4 separate regions of the Homo sapiens genome follow, and all the other regions are linked to region 1. The links are contacts of gene promoters, found by promoter capture Hi-C in blood cells and fetal thymus (Javierre and others, 2016). All regions are on one chromosome and are shown on one strand. Each heading gives the region's core, a stretch centred on a gene start or on the middle of the fragment in contact. The rest is flanking DNA. Distances are from core to core; before and after follow the strand shown. Region 1 holds the start of COX7B2 (cytochrome c oxidase subunit 7B2). Region 2 overlaps GABRB1 (gamma-aminobutyric acid type A receptor subunit beta1). Region 3 overlaps GABRB1 (gamma-aminobutyric acid type A receptor subunit beta1). Region 4 overlaps GABRB1 (gamma-aminobutyric acid type A receptor subunit beta1).

Region 1 (7,587 bases), core at 2,810-5,309:
ATAGAACCTGTAGGCATGGGTAAATATATGAATAGAAGTAAGGTTTGTCAAATTTACATTTTTCCATCTGTTTTAACTTCGCAAATGTATGGTTCAAAAACAATACTAAAAGAATACATGTACTCAACACAACTGTCCCCACACCTATGTAATTTCAACACAGCCACTTTCCCAAACCCTAAAAGAGTTATCCCAAAGCACACTGTGTTCTTAGAAACCGGAACTGAATGTCATCTAGAGGAAGAAGGGGACATGAAAATATTCTTGGTTGCAGCCTCATCAGGATGCTTGTCATTTATGTGAGTAACACAAAATCCTGAAAACTCCTATCAATACGATAATTTTGACATTAACGATTCATCCTACCTGGGAGTAAAATGCACTCAGTATACTGTTGCCTCTCTCAGAGAATGACATTTGAGACATTCCTGCCTTACAGAAAAGTTTAAAAATTTCTAATCAAGTTCACCAGGTTTTAATTAAGTATAAAATTTTCCCTCTACAATATGTTTTTAAAACTTTCATTTTCATTCCCTCTCTGAGCCCTCAGTTTCTGCCACTTTGGTGCAGCTAAAGGTGGACTCTATCTTACAAAACAGAGCCTACCATCTCTGATAAGCATATATTTCTTTTTTTTTTTTTTTTTTTTTTTTTTGAGACGGAGTCTCGCTCTGTCGCCCAGGCCGGACTGCGGACTGCAGTGGCGCAATCTCAGCTCACTGCAAGCTCCGCTTCCCGGGTTCACGCCATTCTCCTTCCTCAGCCTCCCGAGTAGCTGGGACTACAGGCGCCCGCCACCGCGCCCGGCTAATTTTTTGTATTTTTAGTAGAGACGGGGTTTCACCTTGTTAGCCAGGATGGTCTCGATCTCCTGACCTCATGATCCACCCGCCTCGGCCTCCCAAAGTGCTGGGGTTACAGGCGTGAGCCACCGCACCCGGCCCCATATATTTCAATCCTATATTACAGTAGTTCTTTCCACTGTTTCTTGTTATGGAATTGATAAGCTGGTGACCTGCCCCTCAGGGAGGGTCTCCTCTCTCATCTATTTATTTCAGCTGGAAAATCACTCTCAGCAGATTCCTGAATTGAAGCTGCAACTGATGATCCTGAAGCCTGAGCCTCCAGGGGCCCAAAGAGAACTAATTCCTTTTCCATGTGCTCCTGTCTTTCATCATAAAATTGTACAGACCTTGAATAGCATTTTTTTCTGCTACATATTTTTCTGCAACAATGAAACACACCTCTACTTTTTATTTTCTTCTATCCTTCTATCTTTCAGAAAGTTTTAACTGTTCTTAGCTATGTAATCAACTTAGGAAGTTGAATTTCTAACTGGTTAACCTTTTTATTAATTTGGTCTCTTCTCCAACACACATAGCATTAATGCTGTTTGCTGGAAATGAATACTTGACTACCTTATTTTTTTTCTAAGCATTAGTTTTTTTCTAACATACTCCTCTAGTTCTTAAGTTCCAGAATCTTCTTCTCTATCAATAACAATGAAATCACTCAATTCTGAATTTACTAAAAGTATCTACCATTCAAACACATATTTTCCCCTCTTCCTCCCTGAGACAAATAGTTCCATGCAGGAACTTTTCTCTCATTAGACCAACATCTAGTCTATTTAAGCCTGAATTTATCTTCTTGCCTGGCTCATTCCAATATGCCCCTCTTGCTTGAGCCTTGTCTTGCATCCTAATTTTTGGGCACAATCCTTCAAGGCACAAAATGTAACTATGTTCAAAATCTATAATGGCTATGTTACCTTGAAAACCACCTAATGACACTTTGTAAGTTCAACAGATTTCCCTAGTCTTAGTTCTGCCTTTAACGTCATCCCTTAACAGTGACTTCTTAACAGTTTCCTATTTCCTGACTCTCTTTCAAGGAGCCATTCCATTTGAGATCTTGCCTCTTTCTCTTTTTGATTAATTTGACTCAGGTCCTTATCTCAATCAAGTAACAACTAAACTCTTAAACTCTTCTTTTACCAATCCTATGACATACAACATTTAGATCCTCTTGAATCTCTATTTCCCTCTACTTGAACTTCAAATCTCATTTTCTATGTCATTTCTCTTAAGCTGGTGTCCTAATTTCCCAAATTTGCTCCTAAAAACTTTTCTTTTTCTCCAGCTCTAACTTATTTTATTCTTGCTTCCATTTTTCCATTGCTCTCTATTAACAATGAAGCATAAATTTTAAACTACGCTAGCACCTAAAATCCTAAGCAAAAATGATTTTTAGAACCAGATATTCCAATCATGAGACTTTTTAATTGCTTTCTCAGTCACTGTTTTTGCAATAATTGTATTGAATGGTTTCTCATCCTCAATTTATGAAGATTTATGAAAATCTATATGGTCTTTACAAGAAGGGTTCCCATTGCTTTTTAATTTAATATCCAACTCCGTAATTTGATATCCATATGCACCTCCTATGGGTGGAGTCACAGTGTGAATCTCAAAGATCAAAAGTTATGACCAGAGTACACAGAATTGTTAAATTCAAAGCCACTGTGAGATAAAAAAAAAAATAGGAACAACTATTAAATCGATGGCCAAGTCAGATAACTCCAAGACTTGTCACACCAAACTTCCATCTCTTGTCTCTGAAGAGGAGTCAAAACAATATAAAAGATCAGAATTTGAGCAGACTTTTTTTTTTTTTTTTTTTTTTTTGAGACGGAGTCTCTCTCTGTTTCCAGGCTGGAGTGAAATGAGACGATCTCAGCTCACTGCAACCTCCGCCTCCCGGGTTCAAGCGATTCTCCCGGCTCAGCCTCCCTAGTAGCTGGGACTACAGGCGCGTGCGACCACGCCTGGCTAATTTTTGTATTTTTAGTAGAGATGCGTTTCACCCTGTTGGCCAGGATGGTCTCGATCTCTTGATCTCGTGATCCTCCCGCCTCGGCCTCCCAAACTGCTGGGATTACAGGTGTCAGCCACTGCACCCAGCCAGAATTTGAGCAGACTATCTATGCCCCCTATGTAGGCCTGGCACTAAACATTTCCTGCAAATACCACTGGCCATCCTAGAACCACTTTGAGATCTGTAAGGCTCGTACACAAAAAGACTATAATCATACCCTTCTCTCAGTCAAGGCTACTTAGAAAAAACTGCCTCTACAGATTTCAAAGCCAAGCAGCAATAATCACGTGACCAACACCCGTTTAATAGGGATGCCTCAACACTCCTGGTCAGATTTTGTTTGCTGAGTCCCTCAAAGCTTATTGGCTTTTGCTCACAGCCCAAGGTATGCAAACCTGCTTATATACAAACAGCTACTCTCCTGTGGGCAAAATTGCCACTACAGCTGAACATATATGATCGGTACCTAGACCAGTTCTGCCAGAGTGCAACACTTCCCACTTTAGCCATGCCAGAAGATACAACTACACAAATCGCTCTGCAACATGCAATTCCTTTCCTTTTAATTTTCCTTTTACTCCCATCCTATGTCCTAGATGTCAGAGTGAGAGGAAGGTCCAAAATATAACGTCTTTCCATTCCCTCTGGGAGAAATGAAACAAAAAAGGAAAGTGGCAAAAAAAAAAAAAAAAAATCTGGCCGGGCGCAGTGGCTCACGCCTGTAATCCCAACACTTTGGGAGGCCGAGGCGGGTGGATCACGAGGTCAGGAGATCGAGACCATCCTGGCTAACATGGTGAAACCCCGTCTCTACTAAAAATACAAAAAAAAATTAGCCAGGCGTGGTGGCGGGCCCCTGTAGTCCCAGCTACTCGGGAGGCTGAGGCAGGAGAATGGCGTGAACCCGGGAGGCGGAGCTTGCAGTGAGCCGAGATGGCGTCACTGCACTCCAGCCTGGGGTGACAGAGTGAGACTCCGTCTCAAAAAAAAAAAAAAATTTCAAAATATTTCCTGATAACTGTTAGAGCAATGAATGAAGACCATGTCTTATAACTGTCAGCTTACTGACAACGAACCCCAGAATGAGACAAACTTACCAAGGACGTCACAGGTAACAGGCAAAAAAAGACGGCGCAGAGGCAAATTCCGAACCTTTCCGTTTTACAGCCTGGAGGGGTCGGGTAAAACAGGTACTTCCTGTGAGCAGTTTCCGCCTTAGGTGAAAGGAAGAGGCGGTCACATGAAGGACTGCGCGTTCCAAACTGACCAATCAGATAGATGATTGCTATCTCCACGGGAGGAACTAAAAAGACAGCCATTAGGAGAGTTCTTCTAATATAAGTCCCTCTGTAATGAATCAAACAAAAGAATTGAGATGGGTGTTCCTACCTACCAACATAATTCCTAGTGACACCTGTTGGGATCTTTTCCTTCCATGTCGCAGCTATCTCTTGGCAAGCCCCCTGGCTCCGTGTTACTTCTTTATCCCACTTGGTGATTAGGAAAGTTTGAGATTGCCTGTAACCCAAAGCAAGTCATAAATCCCGTGTAGCCCATCTGATCTCTCCTAAGCATACTAGGATGCTAATTATGATGACCACATAATATTTTGCCCAAACTGAGACCCTTGAGAGTGAAAGAGGGCAATGTAATTAATTAAAATTATACGTTTTCTTATTTTTTGAGATTTTGAGACTTTATATTGGTGGGCCAATAAAGTGCAATTCAAAATTCATTTTGGAAAGGAAATTAGTTCTAAAAATTAAAATGATATAATTACATATTAAAGCTAAAACTTTTTGTAAAGTCTGTATTGATAATATGAACATAATAAAATGGCACTTTGGGAGGCCAAGGCAGGTGGATCACCTGAGGTCAGCAGTTTGAGATCAGCCTGGCCAACGTGGTGAAACCCTGTCTCTACTAAAAATACAAAAATTAGCTGGGCGTGGGGTCGGATGCCTGTAATCCCAACTACTTCTGGAGGCTGAGGCAGGACAATGGCTTGAATCACAGTGGCGGAGGTTGCAGTGAGCCGAGATCGAGCCGTTGCACTCCAGCTGGGCAACAAGAGTGAAACTCCATCTCAAAATATATATATGTATAATAAAATGATCATTCTTGCTGTATGCTGATGTATTTTAATTAGTGTTTTGGTCTATAAGACTGGGTCACTGATATTTTCTAAAGAATATATTTTAATATGGTATTATTACTTGTCAACTTTTTAAATCGCCTATACTCTTCTAAAACATGTACTTTATGGGTGATATATGTCAAATTGTTGACATCTTCACTTAACTGTTCACCATGTATTATAGTATTTTAAATTGAGAAAATAAGCTCATAGAAATTCTGCTAAACAGAAAATACCCTTTCTATTTTTTTCATTTTGAAATATGTAATTTTTTCAGTCCAAATATTTTCGCAAGTACCTTCTTCTGGCCTGTAAGGTAACCTATCTTCAGCACATATTTGTATGAGACAAATTTCATTAATTTTGTTGTTATTTATATTCTTTTGAGGTTTTTTTGTTTTTTTGTTTTTGATGGAGTCTTGTTCTGTCTCCCAGGCTGGAGTGCAGTGGCACCCTCTTGGCTCACTGCAACCTCTGCCTTCCCGGGTTCACGCGATTCTCCTGCCTCAGCCTCCTGAGTAGATGGGATTACAGGTGCACACCACCACACCCAGCTAATTTTTTGTGTATTTTTAATAAAGACAGGGTTTCACTATGTTGGCCAGACTGGTCTCGAACTCCTGACCTCGTGATCCGCCCACCTCGGCCTCCCAAAGTGCTGGGATTACAGGCATGAGCCACGGCGCCCGGCCTCTTTTGAAGGTTTAACAAATTTAGATCCTGCAAATTGGAAAGCCTTTTAAATTTTATGTCTCTAAAAATGTGAATTTATACTACTTATAGTAGAAATCCCATGAAAAAAATTATATAAATTTAAAATATTCCAAAGCACAATTATAGAATGTGAAAGTTAAATATTATATAAGATTTAAGATCCAATTAAATTTGTTCATATTATCCCTTGGTTTTGAATGAGTATTTTAAATATTTTCCTGTGTCATGGGCTTTGTTTTTAATAACTACAGTCTGCTACATTTTCAAAACCCGTATTTTATTGGCAAAACAATTGAATTCTTTGAAAATTTTCAAATGATTTTAACACAATTCAACAAATTTTTTCTGTCATTAAAAGTTTACTATTTTTGTAGATAATTTAAGTTTATTTACAAAGATTTTTTTTTAAGGATCAAATATTTTTAAAGTCCTGTTTGGAAGCAACAAAGAAACGAAACGTGCTATTATGTTTAAGTCTACTTTTTTGTTTGTTTTACTCAATTCCAGTTTTATCACAAAAAAAATTGATCATCTAATTATTACATATAACTCTATTTGTGAATTTTAACAATTACAGCTTATATTTCAATTGCAGTTTAGATGCATTAATTAATTGTGTGCATAACACAGCCCATTCCAAGAATATAATTATCCCATAGGTTTCTCAATTTACTATGAATATTTATTTTCTCCTAGGACCTTGTGTTCTTCCCAATTCAAGTTCATATTCTACAGTAATAATTTATTTTTAAAATTGCTTGAACTGCATATAAAATCACATTCCCAATAACAGCTGATGTTTTCCTCTTTTGAAGAATGAATTTTCCAATTTTTAATTTGACTGCATAAATTAAAGTAAGTTTTAGGAAATAATAAAATATATATTTACAATATAGTTTTTCTAACTTTCCTGTGCTGCTAGTGTCCCAGACCACCATCCTTTATTAGTAAGTATCCTTAATGATGTATTTAATAGAATGGTGGTTGTATTAGTCCATTTTCATGCTGCTGATAAAGACATACCCCAGACAGGATGATTTATAAAGGAAAGAGGTTTAATTGACTCACAGTTCCACATGGCTGTGGAGGCGTCACAATCATGGTAGAAGATGAAGGAAGAGCAAAGGGATGTCTTACATGGCAGCCAGCAAAAAGAGAATGAGAGCCAAGTGAAAGGGGTTGCCCTTATAAAAACATCAGATTTCGTGAGACTTATTCACTACCACAAGAACAATATGGGGGAAACTGCCCCCATGATTAAATCGTCTCTCACTGGGTCCCTCCCACAACACGTGGGAATTATGGGAGCTATTATTAAAGATGAGATTTGGGTGGGGACACAGCCAAACTATATCAGTGGTGAGTAAGGTTTGGTCTGGAAAGGTCAGATAAACAGAAACAGGCTATTGCTAGTTGTCTGTCAGGTTTGTCCATGTGTTAAAGGCATAATATTGTTTACTGCACACATTTCACATTTTTAAAATGAGATGATTGCAGAAACTAGAAGTAAAAAGTCAAGATCTAACAAATCCACACTGACTTATTTTAATGCAAACATAAATAGTAATTTTTCAACAAAAGTAAAACATCTGGGATAAATACCGTGTTGAACAAGATGTCAAGATGTAAAAGAAGTATGTTTCTGTGAGCCTGATGCCTTCAGAACTTGCCAGATGAAGAACACATATAAGTCTCCTATGGCAAGATCTTCTCTCCCTAACTTCTCTCAAAACACAAAGTTTGTTTACTTTCCCATCTCCTGCCCCTTCCCAGGTCTTAATCTTAGAAGTGAGAAGAGGCACAATGTGCTCACCTCTTCTTTTCACATAAGTCTCATCTATCTCCAAAACACCAACCAT
Region 2 (7,587 bases), core at 3,675-6,174, 480 kb after region 1:
CTGAGAATTGCCAGAGAAAAGCTATTTTTCTAGGAAAGAAAATCCACTATTTTCTATAGACACAAGAGCTTGGTAGAATATGATTATTGGAGGTTGTGTGCAATACCTCTGTGAAAACTCAGGTCAGGGACCACAACTTTGCATCCACAGATGAGAAAGGCATCCAATTTAAAAATTGAATTGGGTAGCAGCTCTCAATAAGTATCATCTGAGAGTGAGTGAATAAGGGATATGAGACTAAAATGATAGATTATACCTAAAAAAAAAATCAGGGACTAGGCAAATAAGTTAATAAAAATGAAAATTAAATTCTGATCTGATATATTAGTAATTTTTAATTCAATGCATCTTATTGCTTCCAGTTGTAAAATCATAACTGAGAGATGTGAAGAATGGGTTCATATCATTTATGGCACATAGATTTTTGTTCATTAATATGCATAGCTAAAATAGCGGGCATATGAGCTACCATACTCCTCAAAATGTTAGTGAAAGTATTATAACTTAAGCATTAAATATACCAAACAGGTCATTTTTTATAGTTACTTTAGTAATCAACTAGAGTTGCATATATTCAGATATATTTCTAGCTAAAGATCTGAATATGTGACAAGGTCTATTAATCATAATTGTTCTAGTGTCACTTAACATAAATGAATTTTAAAATAAAACCTTGTGAGAATCAGTGATCCAAAACTAAAATCATCATGAAAACCTAAAACTCCTGTAACTAAAGGAATAAAATCTTCACAGTATCATGTCGCTGCCTATGAATCTGGAAGATCTTGAGTGCCCTCTACAGGATATTTAAATAACTTTGATGTTTATTTTTCCCAAACAGGCAATTTCTAGAACGTAAAAATAACGTATCAGGTTTTATTTTTTAAATGATTACATATTCACCACGTAAAATTTTTGAAAGAAAAAATCATCCATAATATTATCATTCATAGATAACCACTATTAACTCTTTCCATATATAATCTTTGTTATATGTACACACACACATACATTTTTATTATATTTTTCTCTTAACAACATACCATAAACATTTTGCCATCACTGATTTTGGCAGGTTGAGGATTTTTTTTAGATTTTAATGGATTTTCCAAAAATGTGCTTTATTGACAAATCACTATTTCTCATCAGAATTTCTCAGTGAAAAGTGACCCCCACACCAAAATAAAAAAAAAAAAAGGAAAGAAGGTGAATTTAAATAAAACAAAACAAAACTCAGTAACCACTCAAGGGTGGGTTCATAACCAATAAAATCAGGATACACATGACTCTTCAAACCAAAAATACCATAGAGATATTCTGAATAGTTTCCCACATTGAGGATATAAGGTGGTCTTAGAAATTAAATTAGGTAAATAAGACTGTTATCCAAACTATCAAATCTGGGGTTTCAGGCCAAGAATAACACTGTTAGTGCAGTAAGGTTAAAGTAGTAGTACATTTAAGTTAGCTAGATAAGTGCCTCTGTTTCTATTTTACTTGTCCATGATCTTATTATCCTTAAAGGTAGTTTACACTTCAGAAAATAAAGGCATATTTGACACACTAAGTGCCTGTCAAAATCAGAGGTGACTCCCTTTTCTACACTAGGCCTGATTTTGTTTTTTATTTTTTAAAATAAAGCAATGATGCACATCTTTAAGGATGCCAAATAGATTAGGCATTCTTAACACTCAATTTGAAAACAATCTTTAAAAACATTATGATACTGACACACTAGTTTAGCTTCTTTGCACATGGGGTTAATTCCTTTTCATTTGTCCTAGTGAACGCTGTCATTACACTTTCCGGAGAATATTAACACGAAAGACTTTGCCTACAACCAAACAAATGTTTCAAAGTGGAAAGAGGTTTCAATCTTCCTTTTTAACCAGAGCAGAAATTACTGGCAGAGGCAACATCCTATCATAATAATGCCATGACCTCATCTGAGACTAGTTGAACAGCAAGATCCTCTCTATTCCATGATAACAATAATAAGTCAAGGTTGTCTGAATTTTGAAAGAGATTTCTCACAAACTTTGCAAGGAGTACATGTTTTATTTGGTTACAGTACTGTGAAACTCATCTTTTTGAGAAGGTTGTACCCAGATCTCAGTGGAAATTAAGAACAAGAGTAAACAGTCACAATTTATTTTCATTTCTCACCTGAGATTATTTTAAGAAGGGAGGTGCCGAGAATTGAGATGTTTATTACATGTATAGACGATGCAACAGGATTTCAAGACTGTAAAAGATTTGACCACAGGTATCTAAGAGAAATCTACTCTGTGATTATTAAAATAAATTGAAAACTCTGAACTGCTTTTACTCACAACATTTCTGACACCAAATGTTTGGGTTTGCCTCACACCAACCAATTCTCCTACTCTCTGGACACCAAGTGGATCTCTTACAATTCAATTCTGATTCTAACACTCAAGAGTTAGACTCCAGAGTCAGACTCCACAGGTTTAATGCCTCGGTCCCAGAAGACTGCATTCACTTCTGATGCCATTCACAAGCATTGGGTTCCCGGGTTACCCACAACTCTGTCCTACTTAGCTTCAAATCAGGGGCTCCCACAAACCTCCCTCTAGGTTTGACAATTTGCCGGAATGTCTCACAGAACTCAGGAAAACAGTCTACTTACTACTACTGGTTTATACAACTCAGGAGCAGCCAGATGAAAGAGACACATAGGGCAAAGAATGGCAGGGAGTTGTGGGGGTGCAAAGCTTTCATGCCCTCTCCAGGCATGCCACCCTCCCAGCACCTTGATGTGTTCACCAGCCTGGAAGGTCTTTGAACATTAGTGGGTTTTATGGAAGTTTCATCACATAGGCATGATGGATTATTAACTCAATCTACAGCTTTTCTCTGCTCTCTGGAGGTTGAGGTGGGGACTGTGAAAGTTTCAGGCTTCTAATCTGGGTATGGTCTTTTTGACAACCAGCCCCCATCCTGAAGCCATCTAGATGCTCACCAGAATCACTGCATTAAAATGAGAGATGCTGCTGTCACCCAAGAAATTCCAAGATATTTAAGAGCTCTGTGTCAGGAATGAGGGACAAAATCACATATATATTTATTATGCCACAGAAATAGATGACTAAGGATTTTTTTCTGAGACATAAAATATTCTCCCCTTTGACTATGAAGACAAATAAAATGTAGAGGCTACAAGCTGTTTGTTTTGAGATTTTATTGATAACAAGCACATCAATACAGACAATAAGATTTTTAGCATTTGCAGGTGTGATTATCCTTTACTTCACTGTGTATTGGGGCCATTGAGTAACCGTCACTGTGATCTTTGGCTAGCAATGTACCTAAAACATATGTACCTACATAAATTAATGCAATATAGCTCCATTAGCATGTATAAAGGAAAGCAGACCTTGTGAGTGGGAGGATATTATCATGAGCCTACAGACATTAGTACACCACATGGCTATTTGTGTTTATAGAATGAAATACATCATTCCATTGTCCAAGAAGGAAGGAAAAAAAAATTCAACAGACACTTAAGCTGATGAAATTGAAGCATTCTGGGCAATATAGTAACCCCACATTCTGTAAAAGGAGAATCAGTAATCTATGGAAGCAGCTTGATGTTTCTAAAAATAAGTCTAACAGACCTTACTTTCTTATCTGATAGGCTGCAAAATCAATCAAGAAAAATATGAGAAACATAGAGATATAGACGAAAGGCTAAACAATTAGGAAAATATTAAATGGATAAATGATGGTGTCACCCCACAAAGTGCTGATTAAAGACCTGATTCATCCTACAGGAATATTACCAGGGAAATCTTACAGGGCTCTGTCTTTGTCTCTGCCAGTCCACATTTGTCTCAATCAAGGGAATAATGATAAAAGGCATGTTTTTCAAATTTGCAGATAACATGAAACTAAGAGGTTGAGCAAATCAGCATCCAGAAACAAAAATAGCCCAGGCACAGTGACTCATGACTGTAATCCCACTTTGGGAGGCCAAGACGGGTGGATCACCTGAGGTCAGAATTCAAGACCAGCCTGGTCAACATGAAGAAACCCCATCTCTGCTAAAAATATAAAAATTAGATGGCCTAATTTTTTTTATGGTGTTATGCACTTGTAATCCCAGCTACTCTGGAGGCTGAGGCAGGAGAATCACTTGAACCTGGGAGGTAGAGGTTGCAATAAGCCAAGATTGTGCCACTGCACTCCAGCCTGGGCCACAGAGTGAGACTCCATCTCAAAAAGCAAAAACTCAATAGGCTAAAATAGTAAGTCAAATTGAATTAGATAAAATTATCAAACTGGCTCGATACAATTAAATGGGAACAATATTAGTTCTTATGTGTGAGTCCAAAAGAAAGTAAAAACCATTTGATTGTGGAAAAAGCGAATTTGAACTTGTGCTGCTTTAATGGAAGACCAGTGACTAGACTTTGCTAGCCAGTCACTCCAAGAATGTCATGACTTGGGCAGGCATGGGGGGATCTCATCCACATGGGACCAGAAAAATGGTAGAGGAGGTCAGAACAGGGTTGTATAGAGGCTTAACCCCAGCTGAATAGCCCAGATGGATGCCTATCACATGCAGTTCAACCTGGCAGGCAATTTCATCTTGAGAAATTACAGGTAGACAGCCAATTTAAAAGTCAGGAAGGGCCACAATCAGGGTCAGGAGATCTAATGGTGGCAGCAGAATTTCTATCAGTGGGAAATTTAAGAGGAGTTGGACATATTCCAAATAAATAAAGCTCGGAAGGAGATCTTGGCCGTTGCACTAGAGTCCCATTGGTGTCAAAGGTTCAGCCATATAGCCAACACGCATTATAGGCAAAGTGTCTACATCTACAAATTAATCAAGGGTCTTAAACGGATTATTGGCTCCAAAATACATAAAGAATATTACAATATTAAAATTAGTATAACATGTTAACAAATAAGCTGCAATTAAATGTTTTATAGTGATATGTAAATTATGTTTAACATGGAATGTGAATACATTTTAATGTATTTGATATAATGCCTGGAGTCTAAATGCCTTTAAATGGGTATGGTCTAGTGTAGACAAGGATTAATAGACTAGGCAGTGTAAACAGTCAGATATGAAGAAACCGGGCTCTAGAAAAGTCACTCTGGGAATTTACATATTGTCCAAACATAGAAAATGCCAGGGTCGAAATGGAGTAGGGAGAAGCCTGAGTATCCTGACCTTGCTTTAGGTGTGTTAGGTCCTAGATCTGGTTGGAAGTAATGGGGCTTTCCAGAGGATGCTAAAGAAATCAGAAAACATGGTTGGATTCTATGATCGCAAATCTGGGGATACGTCCAAATCTGCTGCTGCTTAATTCTTATGTCAATCAAGAGTGGCTCCATAACAAGGGCAGAATTAACCTTGGGGACAGGTCTGTGCAATAGAGAAAGAAGACAGATAACCCAAAAAGTGGTAAAAGAAACAAGGTAGACATGACTACCCCTAAGTTTAGGGCTGCATACTTCATGGGACATGTAAGCAAACTGGAAACTGTGAGCAGAAAAAAGTTCCTAAGACTGAGCATACCCTGGGAAGGACCAGAGCCTGGAGAATAAAAGAAAGGGAGCATGAAAAGTGTTCTCAAAGATGGGAGGTGTTATTATGTTAAAAAAAGAAAAAAAGGATTGGGTTTGTTTTCTGTTAACACAGAGGTGGGCAAGGATGTCATGGTGGATACTCTCCAAGAAGATGAATTTTTACTTATGATAGAACATGTTTTCTAATGATTATTATCAGAAACACACTCACCCATCCAAACCCAAAGAATGGACTTAGAGGTATGAAGAACAGTGAAAGTGAGACTTTTTAATAATGGCTTTGCAAGATTGGGTGTTTGGTGGGCAGGCACACTTGGGGAAGTCACATCAAGTAATTTATCTCTTACACAAAGTTCCTCCCCCAGTTCCTCATTGGTTGAGTACTGTGGGGTTACAATTTTCCTGGACATCACCTAAGTTTCATTATCCCCTTATAAGGTTATCCCCATCCCCTTCCCTGCTTAAGATTTGATTTCTCAATAACAAAACTGTCTTCCCTTTTATGGGCTGACCCTTCCTCTGCATTCTGTTCTCTTATTGTGACCTTCTAGGTGCATGAGCTGTAAGGTTTGTTTCATTTGCAAGCGGGCTGCCAGTGCTTAGATTTATCATGCCTTGAAAATGGACCGTTGAAAATGTTCTCTCACAATTATCTAAAAACCTAATTAACTACCGAGCAGACTCAGAAAGTAGTAATATGGCTATCTGTAAGCAGTGGATGACCATTCAAACAGTGGGTTATCAGGAATCAAACATTAAATGGGTTGTTGCATTTTGCCTTTAACTGTGAGAATGTTTTAAAAATCTGGCTTCCATAGTTTATTTGCTGCTTCTTGGGGTGTCATGGAGATACAAAGTTCCATGAGAAAGGAACCCAAAGTAGCCTTTTGAATAATTGTTATGCACATCTGGAGCCACTGGAAAAATTAAACCCAGTTGACTCTCTTATCTGAAGCTAAGATGCACAATTCCAAATATCCAATAACTCTGTAGTGTAAAGCAATCTACATTGCTACAACAGCAGAGCTCTTGATAAATTCCTAATATGTCTCCTCTCATGTGGGAAGAGTAAGAGGAATTAGGGAGTGGTAGACCACTATGCTTATTTCAGTAGGTTATTTTCTAACAATAGTTGAAATGCTGATTTTGAGTGTCATTTAGGATACTTTAATTAGGTGCAACTGATGTAAACAGGAAGGAAACATACTGGCTCCTGTAAGGACCAGGTACTCTCCACTCAACATTCATGTTTGCAAACAGCTAAAAGAGAAAAAGAAATTTACCTTTCCTCCGACTATTGAAGAAAAGTTCTAGGTTTCTTTGGGACTGGATCAACTTGGATCACATGCCTATTGCCAAGCAACTAATTTGGCCAGGGGACTGCTATGAGATAATTGTTTTAGACCTGGATTGTTGCCTAACCCTGAGCCATTCACCATATTTTAATGATTGGCCTAAGCCAATCAAGATCCACACCATGAAATTTGAGATTGGGTTACAACTGCTCCACAACAGGACATAAACTTATTTCTGCCCACCCATGGATTAGAAGCTTAAATGTCTGCATTATCTGAAACACATTTACGTACAAGACTAGACCATCCCCCTAGCTCTATTAAGCACAGTGGGGAGTAATTTTTATTTTCAAATTAGAAAATGCATCCAAAATAGAGTGTTTCAAGTACCAAAAGAATACTAACATCCCAGATACTTCTACAATTGTACTAACTCCATGCATCTTTATCCATTGACATCAACTTAATTTTATCTGTACTTTCTTCACCACTAAGAAATCCCCAGGGGCTGAAAGGAAATTTCAAGAGTTCCTGTATAGTTATTGTTGCTAGGAAACAACATCCTTGGTATCCAAGTGTTCAGCTCTGAGATACTGTGTGAAGTCACTGGTTCATAAAAGAAAACCTTTGGTAAAATAGGTTGTTTAGGTGTGAGTAAATTGATGTTCTCACTCTGTGGCAAAATGTTCTTGTGTAACCTTTGAAATAATAGTGTATTTCAAAGCCA
Region 3 (7,587 bases), core at 2,312-4,811, 460 kb after region 1:
TGTTCCTGGCCGTAACAACAAAAAATTTCTTCTGGGGACTTAAGGAAAGCGTGCCAACAAAATATCTCATGGACTAATAGTAAACAAGCCAAAAGGCAAAGGGTAAAACATATTCTGGATTTAGTCAGAAATGGCAACATATGCAAAAGCTTTGTGGCAAGAGGAACATGGGTATTTGAGAAACTAAAGCTGAAGCCAGGGTAGCTAAAGTCAGAGTGAGGGGAGCCTGCAGGAGTTGAGGTTGTAGAAGAGACGGAGCAAAATGAGAAACCACTGAAGGAACTTAGGCAAGAGGTAAAGTGAACAGATGTGTACTTTGAAATCTGTCACCTGGCTGCCACAATAGTGAACAGTTTGGAGAAGTACAGAGTGGAAGTGACTAGACCAGTTCAGTAGCATCTGCCAAATATGACAAAAATGGTTATGGCAGTGGTGATGGAAAAAAACTGGACTGATTTAAGAGAAATTCCAGTGTTAAAATAGGAAATTACAAATTAGATACTGGAGAAAAGGAGGAAGACATCAAAGATTACTTCCAAGTTTCTGAATGGTGCAACTTTGTTGATGATAGGTTTTGATGGGGAAATCAAAAAGTCATGCTGAAGATATTGAACTTGAGGTGGCTTTAAGTCATCAACTGGGGTTGTCAAGTGGGCAGTGAGGCTATGGACCTGGATCTCAGAGGAGAAATCTAGGCTGGACATGTACATTTGGAAGTTATCAAGGCAGAGAGAGTTGTTAAAGCCAATGACATGGATAATTTGCCTAGTGAGAAAATGGAAAATGAATGAGAAGAGAGGAAGACCTAGAACCCAACCTTGAGAGAAGAGCATAAGTCTGCAAAGAATTGTGACAAGGAGCTTCCGTATAAATAGCAGGATGACTAGGAGAAAACAATATCAGAGAAGCCACTGGAGGAAAGTTACAAGAAGGATGGCAAGGATAATCAGGTCAAATGCTGCTGACTGGTCAAAGAAAATGAGAACCAAAAACTGAATATAGCAAAATGAGGGTCAGAGCCGTAGTAGTACAAACTGTTTGGGATTGATGGAACTAGAAGTCAGAGTGGAGTAAGGTAAATGGACACAGGAATTATGGATAACTCTAGAAATTTGGCTATGGATGAGGGAGAGTGAGTAGAGTGGCAGCAAGAGAGAAAAATGGGATAGGTGGAGTGACCTCAGCCATAAAATTTATATCTGTAATGAGAGTATCTCAGAATTCGCCCACATTTCTAGGCTATTGATGTGATTCTCACATCAAGTTATAAAATTCGAGCATTTTCGAAGGTTTGAGTAGTTTGTAATCCATCATAAATTTTACGTGGTTCTAGGAGACTTCTTTTTTCTTTCATATAGTGATCCATTAACCTGGTTATGATTGTGGCACATAGAAGCCCAATTCATGTATGCACTCAGAGGACAGACTAGGGTGCCTATAGAGGTTTAAATTATTGTCCTTCTGTTGCTGAGGAAGTAAAAGGAACAATCTTTTAAGTTACCTAAGACATAGATACTTAAAAAGTCCTCAGGCGTCAACTGTTCATCACTGTTTTTAATTAAATATTTATTAAGCACACACTGCATATCAGCTATTGTGTTAGATTTTGAGAATACAAAGGTGAATAAGACACAATTCCTAACCTCAAGATGCTCATCAAATAACAAGAAATGAATATGTGTAAACAGATACTGCTAGTACACTGTGAACATGCCATGAAGAGATATGTGCAAGATGCTACACGAAGAAAGGTACCTGAAGCACCAGACTGATAAATGAGAATGAGTGTCTAAGCGTGTGTGTGTGTGTGTGTGTGTGTTTGTGTGTGTGTCCAAGGGGCTCAGTTGTGGAATATTTTATGGAGATGAAGACTTCCGAATTGAGTCTTAAAAACTATTAGTTTACATTTATTGAGAGATTACAATGTGCCAGGTAGAGTGGTAAGCACTTTACACCTTAACAAATTTATTATACTCACTTTAGAGATAAAGAAATTGAGGCAAATAGAGTTGAAGTAACTTGTCCATAGTGACACAAACTACTGAGTGTCAGAGTTGGAATTTTAACCCAGTCTTCCTTCAGAGCCCATCTTCTAGACTACCATGCTACATACCATATACCATGGACCATGACTTAAAATTAGAGATTAGCCAAATTTTGTATGTGTCGGTTATGGGGGAGGAAAAGGCACATCTCAGGCCCGAAAATCAGTCTCTCTTACTTTTGGGTTTTCTCATCCCACTCTGATTGCAGGATCCTGAAACAGCTATCCCAGGGTTAAAAAGAGGGAGACATGACCACTCTCCCAGGTCATATTTATAATACCAGTAAGCAGAAAGAGGCTTATTATAAAATAATCTATGATCTGGTCCCCTGGTTACCATTAGAGAATAGAAACAGAATGGATTACAGGTTTCGTCCATTTTAAAGTAAAGTTTGCTATGAATAGACTAGAGGATACTTTTGTATTTAGGTTAATAAGTTCCTCTTGGGAACAAAAGGGCTAATAAGGAAGGAATCCTGCTCCTTTCTTAATGTTTCCAAGTTAAGCTCCATCAGACCATCTGGCAGTCATGGTACTTAGAGCATAAGAGGTGATTAATACCACCCTGGGATGTACTGAATAAACAGAAGATCATAAAAGAGAAACAGTGTTCACCTGGACAGGGTCAGGAAGATATTAAGGTTAATCATCCCTAGCTTCCCAGAACACTTAATCAGGACAGAGAATATTCTTTTATGAGCTGGAGATCTCAACAACAGTTCTAAGATCAAGGGAGGAAAGAAACTAATCTACTTCTCATGCAATAACACATTTATCTGATCGCTGGAGATAGAAATGGTCTAAATTCACACAATAAAAACTGCATGCATCAGAGACACAATATAACAGCAGCCTTACATTTAGGACTTAGACCAACAGAGAAGACACTAGAAGAGGCTGGCATTGCCTTGGATTTTTTGAGATTTCCAGAGTGAGGATTTTGGGGAGATTCTCTCTCAGTTAACTGAGAGGCCATTAGGGGAATAATTAAAAAGTGGAAGGACAAAGGCCTCCAAACTGTCCAATTTACTTTATGAGTATTCTTCATGTTGCCAAGCTTCTTGCCTTTTTGTAGCACAAAAGCAAATTACAAAATAAAGAAAAAAAGATCAGACAAAGTAGAAGTTGGAGTAAAAGAAAGGGATGGAGAACAAGAAGAGGAAGAGCAAAAAAGCTATTAAAATGATAAAGACAGAGAAGGGAGTTGAGGCAAATGAAAGAATAAAGTTGAGAATAAAAAGAAAAGGAAAAGATAAGAAAATAAAGCAAAATTTCAGGCTGAAAATGGAAGGTTCAACAAAGATAAAACTTAAAGAATAAAAAAAAGAAAAGAAAAACTAAAACCAGTGAGACTAAAAAAAATTTAAACATGAAAGAAGGATGAAAGATTAAAGATAAAACCAGCATAAATAAAAAACATAAAGGGCTAGAACCAGAGAGATAAAAAGCTGGAAACATGAAAGTTAAAGGAATGAAAGATAAAAGCTAAAACAAGAAAATTCAAGTTAAAAGCAATACTTAGAAGATGCGCATAAAATTCTTTTAAAGACTGCTTAAAATTTGTTTCCTTCTTAAAATGGAATAGAAAAAAAAGAATTTGAGATAGAAAGTACAGACAAGGAAAAATAAGAACCCTAAAGAATGAAGCAGAACAAACTAAAATAGAAATAAGGAAAAAATTAAATAATCAACATACACCATGGCAACAAGAAATTCTAAAATAATATCAGGATGCTGATTTGCACCACAGAATATGTTCTTGGTATAACAGGGAAACAAAAGGAATAGGACAAAGAGAGGAAAGCAGTGAGCACCTAGCTGACTGCACTCTGAAAACCTATCCTCAGTTCCTGTACATCCTTCCACCTCTCCGGTCCCTGTATGGAGGTCCCTCTGACCAAGAATAGAAAACAAAATACAATTTCTCTCTAATCCTCAGCTCAGCTTGCATGACTGCTACAATTAAGAGACACAGACAGAAGCTTCAGCAGTTTAGATACAGTGAACCCTAGGCAAAATTCCAAATGATAGTCTGTTTCACTTTTTTGTTTGTTTGTCCTTTCAATATCCTCCTGCCCTTTAATCTATCACTCATTCATTTATTAGTTAATTACCACTTAGTTTGAGTTAGTTTAATTCACCCTTTTTCAGGATAATTTTCATTTTACAAGAAGGCCCATTGGAGAGGGATTTGGGGTAAGGATTGTTTCTTCCCACCCAGCGATTAGCAACACCAGGAAGATTGATGTCAGATGTCTTCCTTGCTCCACCCCCGCTATACCCCTTCTCTTGCCTCCCTTCTCTGCCTGCTTTGTGTCCTGGGAGGGTGACCTATCTGGATTGCAGTCATGGGCTTGTTTACTCCGTGTCTTCTGGTTGATTTTACCAATGAAAGGCATGGGCAGGAGATTAAAGGATAAGAGGAAAGTGAGATCAAGGTATTTATTCCTGTATTTCGCTCATCGCCATGGATTGACTCCATCCCTCTGCCAAGACCACGGCTCCTACCTGAGGGCCTTCTCCTGAGCTACACCCTCTGGATTCTGAGCACAGCTAACCTGCTCTCTCCCTTGACTCTTCAGGCCCAGAGGTGGTGGTGACTGGCTCCCTAGCTGTTGCCTGCCTCAGGATGCTTTGTTGTCCAGTTCTTACCTTGTTGCTTTCTCTTAGCCCAGTCCTGAGAGTTGTAAATAGCCCTTTGATTAATTCCTCAATTTATTCACATTGAGTGTGCCATCTGTTTCCTGCTGGGACCCTGATTGACACAGTAGGTAAAAGTATGTCATAGGCAAATTTAATTTTAGCATTCTTCACCCCAACATTCAGTGCCCTCATACTACCCATAGACTCAACATAGGTTCCCATTTTGAACAATTCCAGGTCTCATAAAGCTATTGTGCCATCTGGAATGTGTCTGACTTCCTTTCTTGTCCAAATTTATCTGTATATTGAACCATTTTCCCAAGACACAGATCTCTTCAGTGTGCATGCAGGTGAGTCTCCATAAGCTAATCTCTGCCGGAAAATGTATTGTCTCTCACTCAGGTAGCAGAGTGTCTCCTAATGGCCCTCAAATTACAACATAAGCATGAATTATTCCAAACACAATTCTTAGCTAGCATCTCTTCCTCCAGTTTTGTTCTCCACCTACCTATTCTAAGCACTGCAGCCAGATACATTTCTCTGTAAAGACATTCTCATTATGCTACCCACTGGTTTTTAAAAGCCTCAGTTGCTACTCATTGTCCATAGGATAAATTCAACCATTTGAGATCCACAATCTGGCTCCAAACTGAGTCTCCTATTTTATCCACTGCTACAGACAGACCTTGTATTAGGAGCATAGCATAAGATGGGAAAATAAAAAAAAAAATCTCAACATTATCCCCCCTTTTGAAACATATTTTCTTCTTGCCTTCTTCAGTAACTGAAGAATAATGTCATGTGGCAGAGGTAGACTTTTTCATGAGATGACATTCGTAATTTTCCTCCAAGTTTAGTTTCCATTATGATGAAAAGTTGCAAGGTTTTCACTGTCATGGAAGAATTAAAACTGTGACTTAAGCTTCACAACTTACCTGATTTCATGTGCTATTAAATTTTAATTTATACTACTTTTTAGACTATTAAATTTTTTTCTGAGATTTTGTGACATTATGTGTGGCATATTAGGTTGTGTAAGTGGATTATAACCTAGGGTACCAAAGTAGTGTGACATCTCCCAATTCCAAAGCTACACAAGGTGTTGCTTCTGCCATACCTGGACATAGCTACCACCATATGCATTCTGACTTCCCTCCTTCCACACCTCACTATTACCTGCCTGAAATGGCCTTTATCCTCCTCTCTGCTTATCTGAGCACTGCTGGCACATGTCATGTGCTAAATAATTAGTAGGCATTACCATTATTATATCCACCACTCACAGCTCATTCCAAGCACTACTATCTCTAGAGATCTTACTGCTTACTGATTAATTTATCATATACTATTTTAAGGTATGTGTCTCCCAATAGCTTAGAAGTCCCTGCTTAGACTGTAAGCAACTTTAGAAAGCTACCATGTCTAGTATCTCTGTCAGTCTCACATCTCCATTGGCAGAAAATAGAAATTCAATAAGTAATTTATGGCTAAAGTCAAAGCTTATTCTATCCTCCAAAGGCGGCTCTACGGAGTCAACCTGACAGAAAAGAGATGACTTCACTGCACTTCTCTTATCTGCTTGTAGAGATCTTCGACTACCCCAAAAAGAAAAATGCTGGTAATTGATCTTCTACCCAAAAGGAACCAACAAATGACAGATGCAGAAAAGTCTAATCAAGTAAATGTTTTGCTTTCCCTAGAACTCCTTTGCTGTCCCGTGTGGCAGCTCTTTGTAGTTTCTTGCCAGTCTCCAACCTTTATCTCCTCAATGTTCATCTTATCACATTGCCCTGTATATTAGGTGGGACACAGACCAGATTGCTAGAACAAATAAACCCCACAATTCACTAGCAGGAATGAAGCACTTGTTCTTCTCTTGTAGAACAGAGCCAAGGTAAGTAAATGGCTCTGCTCCAAAAGGATGTACAGAAACCCCAGCCAGTTTTGGCTGTGCCATGCCCCACAAGTTGCCCTTGTCCTTGCAGTAAAGGCTGACTGATTATAACCACATTCTAGCTCACATGAAACAAAGGAAAAGGAAGTGGAGGGCAGCCAATATCTGCCTAAGTATCTATCGCAACAGTAACGGACTTTCCATAACTAGAACCCTAAAGATGAATCATGTTGCTACCCATGGTTATAGGCAGCAGAAAGCTCTGGGAGTGGGAACTCCAAGCCCAATATTATATCTCTACTACCATCCAGAGACATGAAGCCCTTGTTTGAAGATGTCCAAAGGCATTTCCCATAATTGGAATCTCCACCCCTGCTTATGTGTATATGCAGCCTAACTAGGAGTCAACATATAAATATCCTCAAATTGAAGGGTGTCAAGAACTACCATGCCTACTTCCTCCAGTCTCCTGGCCACGTCCCTAGTTGGTATTATCTACTCCCCAACACCCATGGGCTCAGGCCTATCAGTTTAAGCCTGTGGTTTTTCAACTGCAGCAATCCCTCCCCATCACCACCTGGTGACATTTGGCAATGTCTGGAGGCACTTGTGGTTGTCATAACAGGGGAGGGGAGGTGCTACTGGCATTGAGTGGGTAAAGGCCAGGGATACTGCTCAACATCATACCATGCACAGGATAGCTCCTCAGGGCAAATAATTATCTAGTACAAAATCTAATGGTGATAACACTAAGAAATCTTGCTCTAGGACAATTCTAATTATTCCCAGAAATCTTACAGGGAGCCAGGCCCAAGCTCCCAGCACCGTGGATTCTGATAGCCAGTGTTGTTTTTTCCCTCATACTTTAACCTGATTTTCTCACCACACATTGCTTAAGACCCTTAGTCTAGGTTTTTATGAATGTTAATAGTCTCAGCAGTGTATGACCACTAACATTATTTAAACTTAAATAATGTTAGTGGTCATACACTACTGAAACTTTCAT
Region 4 (7,587 bases), core at 2,373-4,872, 360 kb after region 1:
TAAATCATATTCAAAGAGGAGGGAAAAGAATGGCACTTGACTTGTCATCAGCAGAACTGGAATCTACAGAAAGTGAAGAAGCACTTTCAAAATCCTGAGATAAAATGACTCAACCCAAAAATTCCATGTGTAATAAATCATCTATTAATATAAGAGTAAAAATATGACCTGATACTTCAAAACTAAAAAAAATTTACCTCCATTTATATACTTTCTTACAAAGTTGCTGTAAAATGTGCTACAACAAAATGAAATAGTAAACTCACTCTGGATTTAATTGAATTGTTAGACACCCTGTTGATGTCAGAAAATTGGCTGTTAGGATACATTGCAAAAGAAGAATGTTTCAAAATATAAAACGTCAGAAGAAAAAGCTAAAATGGTTCAAATGATTTCCTTCAGAAAGCCTAAGGAGTGGAAAAGAGAAGGGTAGGGGATGCTTTATTTCCTTAAAATCTTTTAGTTTTTTTCCTATGTGCATGTATTACATCATTAAAATGAAATTTGATTTAAATAATAATTCATTTGTAGAAGGTAAGAGTATCATTTAATTTTACTATTCGCTAAGCTCCCCAAATCATAATCCCCATTACTTAGTCATTAATGCATCCATTCATTTGTAAGTATCCACTAAAAGTGCTTAGTTTGAATAAAAAGATTTTTGAAATGTGTAATTTCAATGAGAAAAGCCACATGGAAAAAGCAAGAGAATAAATACAAAGCAATATGTACTGATAGCATTAAAATGCTTATTACTATCAGCTAGCTGAAGTAGAACTTTTTTCTACTGGGCAAATTTTATAACATATTGGACATAATGTGATTGACTAAAGGGAGGATACACTTTGCACTGTACATGTTATCATTTATTATTATACAAAACTCTTCAAAAACAAAGCATTTATACAAAAATCCATTTTGTGAGTATAGGAAAACTGTGTTTCATGCAAAATGAAAACCCAAGCTGTTTTATTTTCATTTTTGGTTTCTCATTTGGCAACCATGTTTTAGTTTAATGTTGGAGTTGAAACATGTGCTACAACTTATTTTGATGGTCTCCAAAATCATTTATTTTGGTCTGAATTTAAGCACTGTTTGAGATTTACTTAATGATGTTCAGGTTGATTTCTTTTTTATTCATTTGCATCAGTCAATTTGTTACTTTTAGCTTGCAAGAAGAATATACAGATGTATTTTAAATACACTATTTAATTCTCAGAAGAAATATAATTCTGCTATGGCAAGGCTGAAACCCTCTAATCACAAACCCTTTCTGCCCCATTGAAACAGCACTTTTCATTATGCACTTCTTTATTAACTTAAGGTTTCTTAGGCAAGCATCATTGCATTAGTGCAGAACAGACATTGGGACGTTTAACAAAACAGAAAACAGAATTTCATTGGAGCTAATTAAATAATGAGAACCATTATATTAGTCAAATTAATTCTGTAAAATCATTTCACTTAGTTGCATCCAGTGATAGATGGCTCCAGTGGGGTTTAGTGTGAGGTGTGGGGGAGGGGGTAGGTTTTTGTCAACATCCAACAATTGAGGCAACTAGAAAAGAGATTACCTTATAGCCAGATGCACCTCATTCTTTCCTGGTCCTTTTCTCTTATATTCTTTTTCTCTATTCTATGTTTTTATGCTCTTTTGTTTTCTTTCTTCCCCGTGTCTTTGTCATGCCAAATATAGCTACTTAACATGTATTATGTGTCGGGGATGATACACTATGTACATGTATTAACTCTTTAATTCTCACCACAAGCATTTCCGTTATACTGATAAAGAAGCTGAGATGCAAGAGGAACTCCTCAAATTCACATAGCTAGAAGAGCCCACATTCTTAATTGTTACATCAAACTTAATTTTTACATTATTCACTACTTAACAAACCTGATGCTCTAAGGTGTCCTTGTCAACTCTCCCTACACACACACACACACACACACACACACACACACACACACAGGCTGAGTCTGATGACTCTTAAAGAAGTCCAACAAATTCCAGCTTCAACTAGCTCAACCTAATTGGTCAGTCTTTTGCCTGCAATGCAGTTGTTAGTTGTCCAGTTCGCCTTTGGATTCTTAGACTATTTCTATCTTCCAAAACAGTGTTGAGGGCTGTTACAGATAAATAATAGGAAAAAGTCTGATTGGCTGGCTCTGAATGTATGCACATGACATGGCTGTTTTGGTTTTAGCCTTAGGATGCCATTTTCCAAAAGCTTACCTGTGCATTATAAGCTACTGTTGGCAGTCTGTTGCTGCTAAAATGAGGAATAATTCCTGCCTATTAGTAAGTGAGTTTACCTCCAGGAAACCACTGAAAGTGAGTACAAATCAGAAGAGTTTCTGCAGGAGCCTAAATTAACCTGCAGGAGCCTTTCAGAGCTGCAAGCAATATTACTCCCAAGCACAGCAAGGTCAGCCCAGTCACAATTTTGGCTCTGCTTCTAAAGTGGGAATAATTTTTAAAAGAGAATTGCCTGTTGCTTTCTGTTGTGGAGTGGGGAGGGAAACATTAAGAAAATTTGACTAATCAAGTGCTAGAAGAATTGAAAACTGAAGTTTTCTGATTAGAAATGCAAAGCTAGGATCATGCCTTCTTGTATTTGTCAGAGTGGGGAACATAAAATCCTCCTAACCTATTCAGCTAGCTGAAATGTTTCCATGACAACAGTGGGAGCTTGGAACATTCGGTACTCTTGTCTTCAAAAATAACCTTTCAGTATAGGCAAGAGATTGTCAAAAGCACTAACCCAACTTCACCTTTGCTGTCCAAGGTAACTACCTGACCATTATCTTGGTCTCTTACTTCCCTGGAAGAACTTCAAATGGTTTGTTTATCCTATAGCATACGAACACAAATTAAGATAACCAGCCCAGGTTAAACTGTATTTAGTCTCAGCAGGTTATAGCACTTTTAGTTTGTGCTATTAGTATAAAATGTACTAGTTTTACCAAAGCAAAGAACTTACTTCTATGCAAAGAATTTATAAAGGTTGTTTCTTCTCTCCTTTTAAAGGCAATCAAGTTGAAAATATAAAATAAAGTTATCTCTGATAATATTTTTCTGACATGTCATCAACACACGTTCATGATAAATAATATAGAAAATGCAGGAAAATGTTAGGGGAAAAGTGCATTTATTATCTCACAGCCCTGAGAGCCTACCCATTATTAACATGTTTATATATTCCCTGCTAGTATTTATAGTATAGCCCTATTTTATTTGTTCATATTTATAAACTAAACCATTATTTAAGTTTGGCCACAGAGATAAGCTTGGATAATAAAAGGTTTATTGCCTAAAATAAAACCTCAAAATATAGTAGATAATCATGTGGGTGGCAGTGTTTCCAAGACTGACATCATGAGAACCAAAACAACAGTTTAATGAATACTCAAATGTAATTAACCTACCTCATCTGCGCATTTGGCATTCCTACTTCTCCAGAAAGAGGCACTGATTTGTCTGTTGGCCACCATCCAATATGGGGCATCTCTTTCCCTGGCTTAATCAGTCCTGGCCCAGGTGGCACACTTATTTCAGGTATCACAAATGCTATAAACCCCAGAAATCTCACTGGGCCATTTCAGCCTTCTTTGTGCAGAAGGCAGCTTCAGAGGCTCCTTTCCAGTTTACCCTATACACAATTTTATATTATTTTCTTTCTTTCAGAGATATATCATCAGTAACGTTTCAGGAGTGGGACAGTGGAAGTGGTTCACCTCAGATGCAAGCAATAAGGGGGAAGGAACATATAGAGAAATTAAAAGCAACGATTAATAAATAAAATCAAGTAAAATTCAGCCTGCCTCATAGTCTCACAATGTTCCAGTGATCCTAAATATCAGGGAGAAAATATTCTTTTTCTTCAAATCCTTTTTGTTGATCTAGGTTCTAAACAATTAATGAAGACATGGGTGAGTTTTACTAGTATATATTTAAGCTTCAAATGAGCACATTTTCATTAGTTACACATTAATAACTTTGTTATGTACATGAGAATTAATCCAAACGACTCCATGTATGGTCCATGACACACATAATTAACTACCCGTGTTCCTCTCTTTTGGAAAGTTAGTTCTATAGGATTTAGAATCATTCAAGCTCACTTTGGATGCAGTTCATGTATTCAACTCCTGTGCTGTATATTCCTGCACTTAACTAGTAGATTTTAATAAAAAGTGGCAACATAATGGTTGTAAAGATAAACAGAAGTTGAGTTACTTCAACTATGTCTTTGTATGTGCAGATCATTCTCTGAAACACTGGGAATCCAATGTTTGGAAGTATTGTGGCTTCCCCTCCCCTTCTTTAAAAAAATGTAGTCTAAAAATACTAATTTGTTTATTTTCATTCTTAGTACTGTGTTATTCATTTTTACATTTTATTTTATTCCGTTTTCTTTACTGGCATGATTACATATGAAAAAGTTCAAGATAAGAATTCTATAATTCATGCTTCTTTTTTAACATTATTATTTGTTATACTTTATGGTTCTATATTAACTAAATAAATTTTAAAAATTATAACTGGTAATTACAGAAATTAATCAGTGAAAATAATTTTGATCTATAGAAAGGAGGGAAAAAATTAAAAATAATTCACCCTAGATGTCAAATACTTTAGGTATTCCTCTGTCTCTTATGTTTTAAGCATGTAATTATAATGAAGTTTTCCTTACAAACACTATCCCACTACATCCAAAATATTCCTTTACCCAGAGAAGCCAAAATTTATTTAACTACTAATCTATTATTGAACAAGTAGGTTGTTTCCAGATTTTGCTGTTATAAATAGTGCTATAATGAATATCTCTGTATACATTTTATTCCTGCTTTCTGACGAAACCTGAGTTTAACTTTATGGGACTGCTTATAAGCAATAAACAGGGCCAAGAAGCAGGGCAGGAGTACCATAATCAATTATTCACAGACTAGATGATGTGAACCGTTACTGTAATGATGAGTTCACTGTAGTGAACTCTCGTTTATTCAGTAGTTAATTATCCATAAACCAAGTATCCATAATTTAGATTACCTACCTACAGCATCCTAAGGAAAAAAGCCAAAAGACAAAAAATCCTTATGGTGCGTTGGCTTTAAAAAGCCTTAAGAACCTCCCTGTTTAATATATGCCTCTATAATTTCTGTGCTGTATTCTTGAACATTTCCATCTATCATGTTATACAGGAGCTTTGCAGAATAAAATCCTCCCAGGCAGCTACCAGTCATCTGGAGCATCCTAATATGCTATATTTATTCACATTTCAATGCACATGCTAAATAAGAAATTGGTGATATGATGGAAGGGACTATGGATACTCAGATTTGTTCTTAAGCTTGGAGTCAGACATTTCTCTGGGTAGTTTATTTCCTGCCAATCTTGTGTGCAACACATAAGGAAAGTAAATACAAGGAAAATCTGATTTACCCCCACACCAAGGAAGAAGCCATGCCCCAAAGTCACAAGGCGGTGCTTCTGGGAGAGGATTGTTCTGGGCACAGTAGGACAAATTGGTGGCTAAAAGTTTGGCTCTAGTGCCAGACTACCTGAGTTCGAATCCCACTTGCTAGCTAGGCAAACTTAGGCTGGTCATGGGCTGTACTAGGCTGTGGGATTAAATAATAATAACAATAAACAAGTTGTAGTCCCTGCCCTGCTGGAAACTTAGTTGACAGAGAAAGAAAAGAGAGTCACACAATTGAAAAAATTATTACACAGGAGAACACAGATGAGGGCATCCCACCCAGACTCAGGATATCTGTCAGTTATTATTTTATTATTGAGATTGAGGTTTTGTTCTATAGAAGACACAATCTGTTTGAAAGTAAACCATATATACATACACACACACACACACACACACACACACACACACACATTGAAGGTAGATTTTTTTCTCTCTTCCTATGTGTGTATATGTACACACACATACATTGAAAGATTATGCATGCATACACATACATGTATACATTTACACTCATGCAAGTATTTATATACATACATGAATACGTATTTTTCTTCCAGGCAAAATGATTGGATAATGCTTCCATCCTCTTTTACTATTTGGCCCTCTTCTTCATTTTTTCTCAACTCTTAAAGCAAGAAAAACCCAAATTCCTGGCTCAAATCCAAATTTTACTTCTTGCTACATACACTTAACCTTATTAAGACTCAGTTTCTATATCTGTAATAATAAAAACAATATCATCTAATAGGGATTTTATGCAGATTATAAGCAATAATGTACATAAAATGTTTGACATAGTGCCTGGCACACATTTAAAAAGACAATGAATGTTAGCTGCATTTACAATTAGTAATTAAATTACTTCAGTCAATATAAGAATTATCCATAGACTTGAGGCCCGTTATTATTATCCTCCCTCTGGAATCTCACAATTATTTTAGACCTTTTACTGAGCACATAGGAAAGATAAAATTATCTATATGTAGAAAGGGTTCTTTTCTATGACTATCTATGAGCTATTGGACATAGAAGACTGTTCCAGATATTCCATGTTGCCTAGATAGGGGTCTCTTCTCTCCCCACTTGCACACCAACCCATAAGTGTCACATGACCCCAGTACTCAATTTCAATATTTAGAGAAGGTTGTTACCCCCAAAAGTAAGCCAAATGGAAGACTGAACAATGTCAGGCATACAGGCAAGTGTCACTTCTGAAGGACATCTCAAAAGCTGCACTCCACTGGTTACTTTTGATGGGGAGTTCTGACCCATAGAACTGGAAGGATGAGCTTCATTCAGGCTAACTCTCAAGGGCCCTGGTGTCTCAGCCCCAGTGCTGCTGGCCAACTGTACTTGCTGTGTGGAGCTTAGGGGTCTTTCCTTGTGGACTTAGCTCCTGTCCAAATGGCCATTCCTATTCAGCTAGAAGAAATTATTTTTTCAGTCTAGGAAAGGAGGTCAACAAGTAGATTAAATCTGTTTTCAAATTGTATTCGTGTTTTCCTTGAAATAAAGCCTTTGCAAAGTTCAAGAGCCAAAACTTTGACAGCTTTTTTCTCTGGATTTTGGCAACTTCCAATTAAGCCAATGGGTAGTTCCCAGTCAGCTTCCTGGAACAGGGTACAATTCAGTGAAGCATGGAAAGAGGAAAACCACAAAGGCCACAACCAAAATGTATTTACTCTGTATGTTTACTTCAAGTTAGCCTTGATAAGAAAATGACAAAGAAGCAAGTCCAGAGTGGCTTATCACTTTGTAACTCATCCTACCGCTAGGGCAAATGTGGGGCTTAAATAATCACTTCATTCTGGGGGCAGGGAGGAGAGGAAGGGTTAAATTAGGAGAGGCAGTCTCTAGTAGAGGCTAAGACCATGTGCTCTTGAAATAAAAAGCCCTGCGTTCCTGTCCTCATTCAGCTACTTACAAGCTGAGTGACTTTGGGCAAATTACACAACCTCTCTGAGCCATGGCTTTCTCGATTGATAAAGTGGATGATAAGGATGGTTCTGTGTTTACATAGTCTTTTGAGGGACTAAATAATGATAAAGTCTCAGCATAAGGAATCAAAGAGTATATCTTATCTTCTGCTATTTTAAGGGAG

Evidence for each region. Contacts are between HindIII fragments. The CHiCAGO score rates a contact against its expected background, and 5 or more counts as called.
Region 2: a fragment that was not itself captured here is called in contact with the fragment with the promoter of COX7B2 in region 1 in 1 of 17 cell types (M0 macrophages); the score reaches 5.0 in M0 macrophages.
Region 3: a contact is called between a fragment that was not itself captured here and the fragment with the promoter of COX7B2 in region 1, in 1 of 17 cell types (M0 macrophages). The highest score is 5.2, in M0 macrophages.
Region 4: a fragment that was not itself captured here is called in contact with the fragment with the promoter of COX7B2 in region 1 in 1 of 17 cell types (monocytes); the score reaches 5.1 in monocytes.

What each region holds. Positions count from the first base shown.
Region 1 is chr4:46,905,186-46,912,772 of GRCh38, forward strand. COX7B2 (cytochrome c oxidase subunit 7B2) reads right to left here and starts at 4,060. Exons shown (of 3, transcript NM_130902.3): 1 at 3,975-4,060. The HindIII fragment of the contact is 4,961 bases long and covers 3,234-7,587 here.
Region 2 is chr4:47,383,233-47,390,819 of GRCh38, forward strand. All of the region lies in intron 5 of GABRB1 (gamma-aminobutyric acid type A receptor subunit beta1), which reads left to right. Among named protein-coding and RNA genes, the nearest start is that of COMMD8, 77 kb to the right of the region's middle. The HindIII fragment of the contact is 4,382 bases long and covers 2,734-7,115 here.
Region 3 is chr4:47,361,225-47,368,811 of GRCh38, forward strand. All of the region lies in intron 5 of GABRB1 (gamma-aminobutyric acid type A receptor subunit beta1), which reads left to right. Among named protein-coding and RNA genes, the nearest start is that of COMMD8, 99 kb to the right of the region's middle. The HindIII fragment of the contact is 925 bases long and covers 3,100-4,024 here.
Region 4 is chr4:47,268,005-47,275,591 of GRCh38, forward strand. The region is part of intron 4 of GABRB1 (gamma-aminobutyric acid type A receptor subunit beta1); the gene reads left to right. Among named protein-coding and RNA genes, the nearest start is that of COMMD8, 190 kb to the right of the region's middle. The HindIII fragment of the contact is 669 bases long and covers 3,289-3,957 here.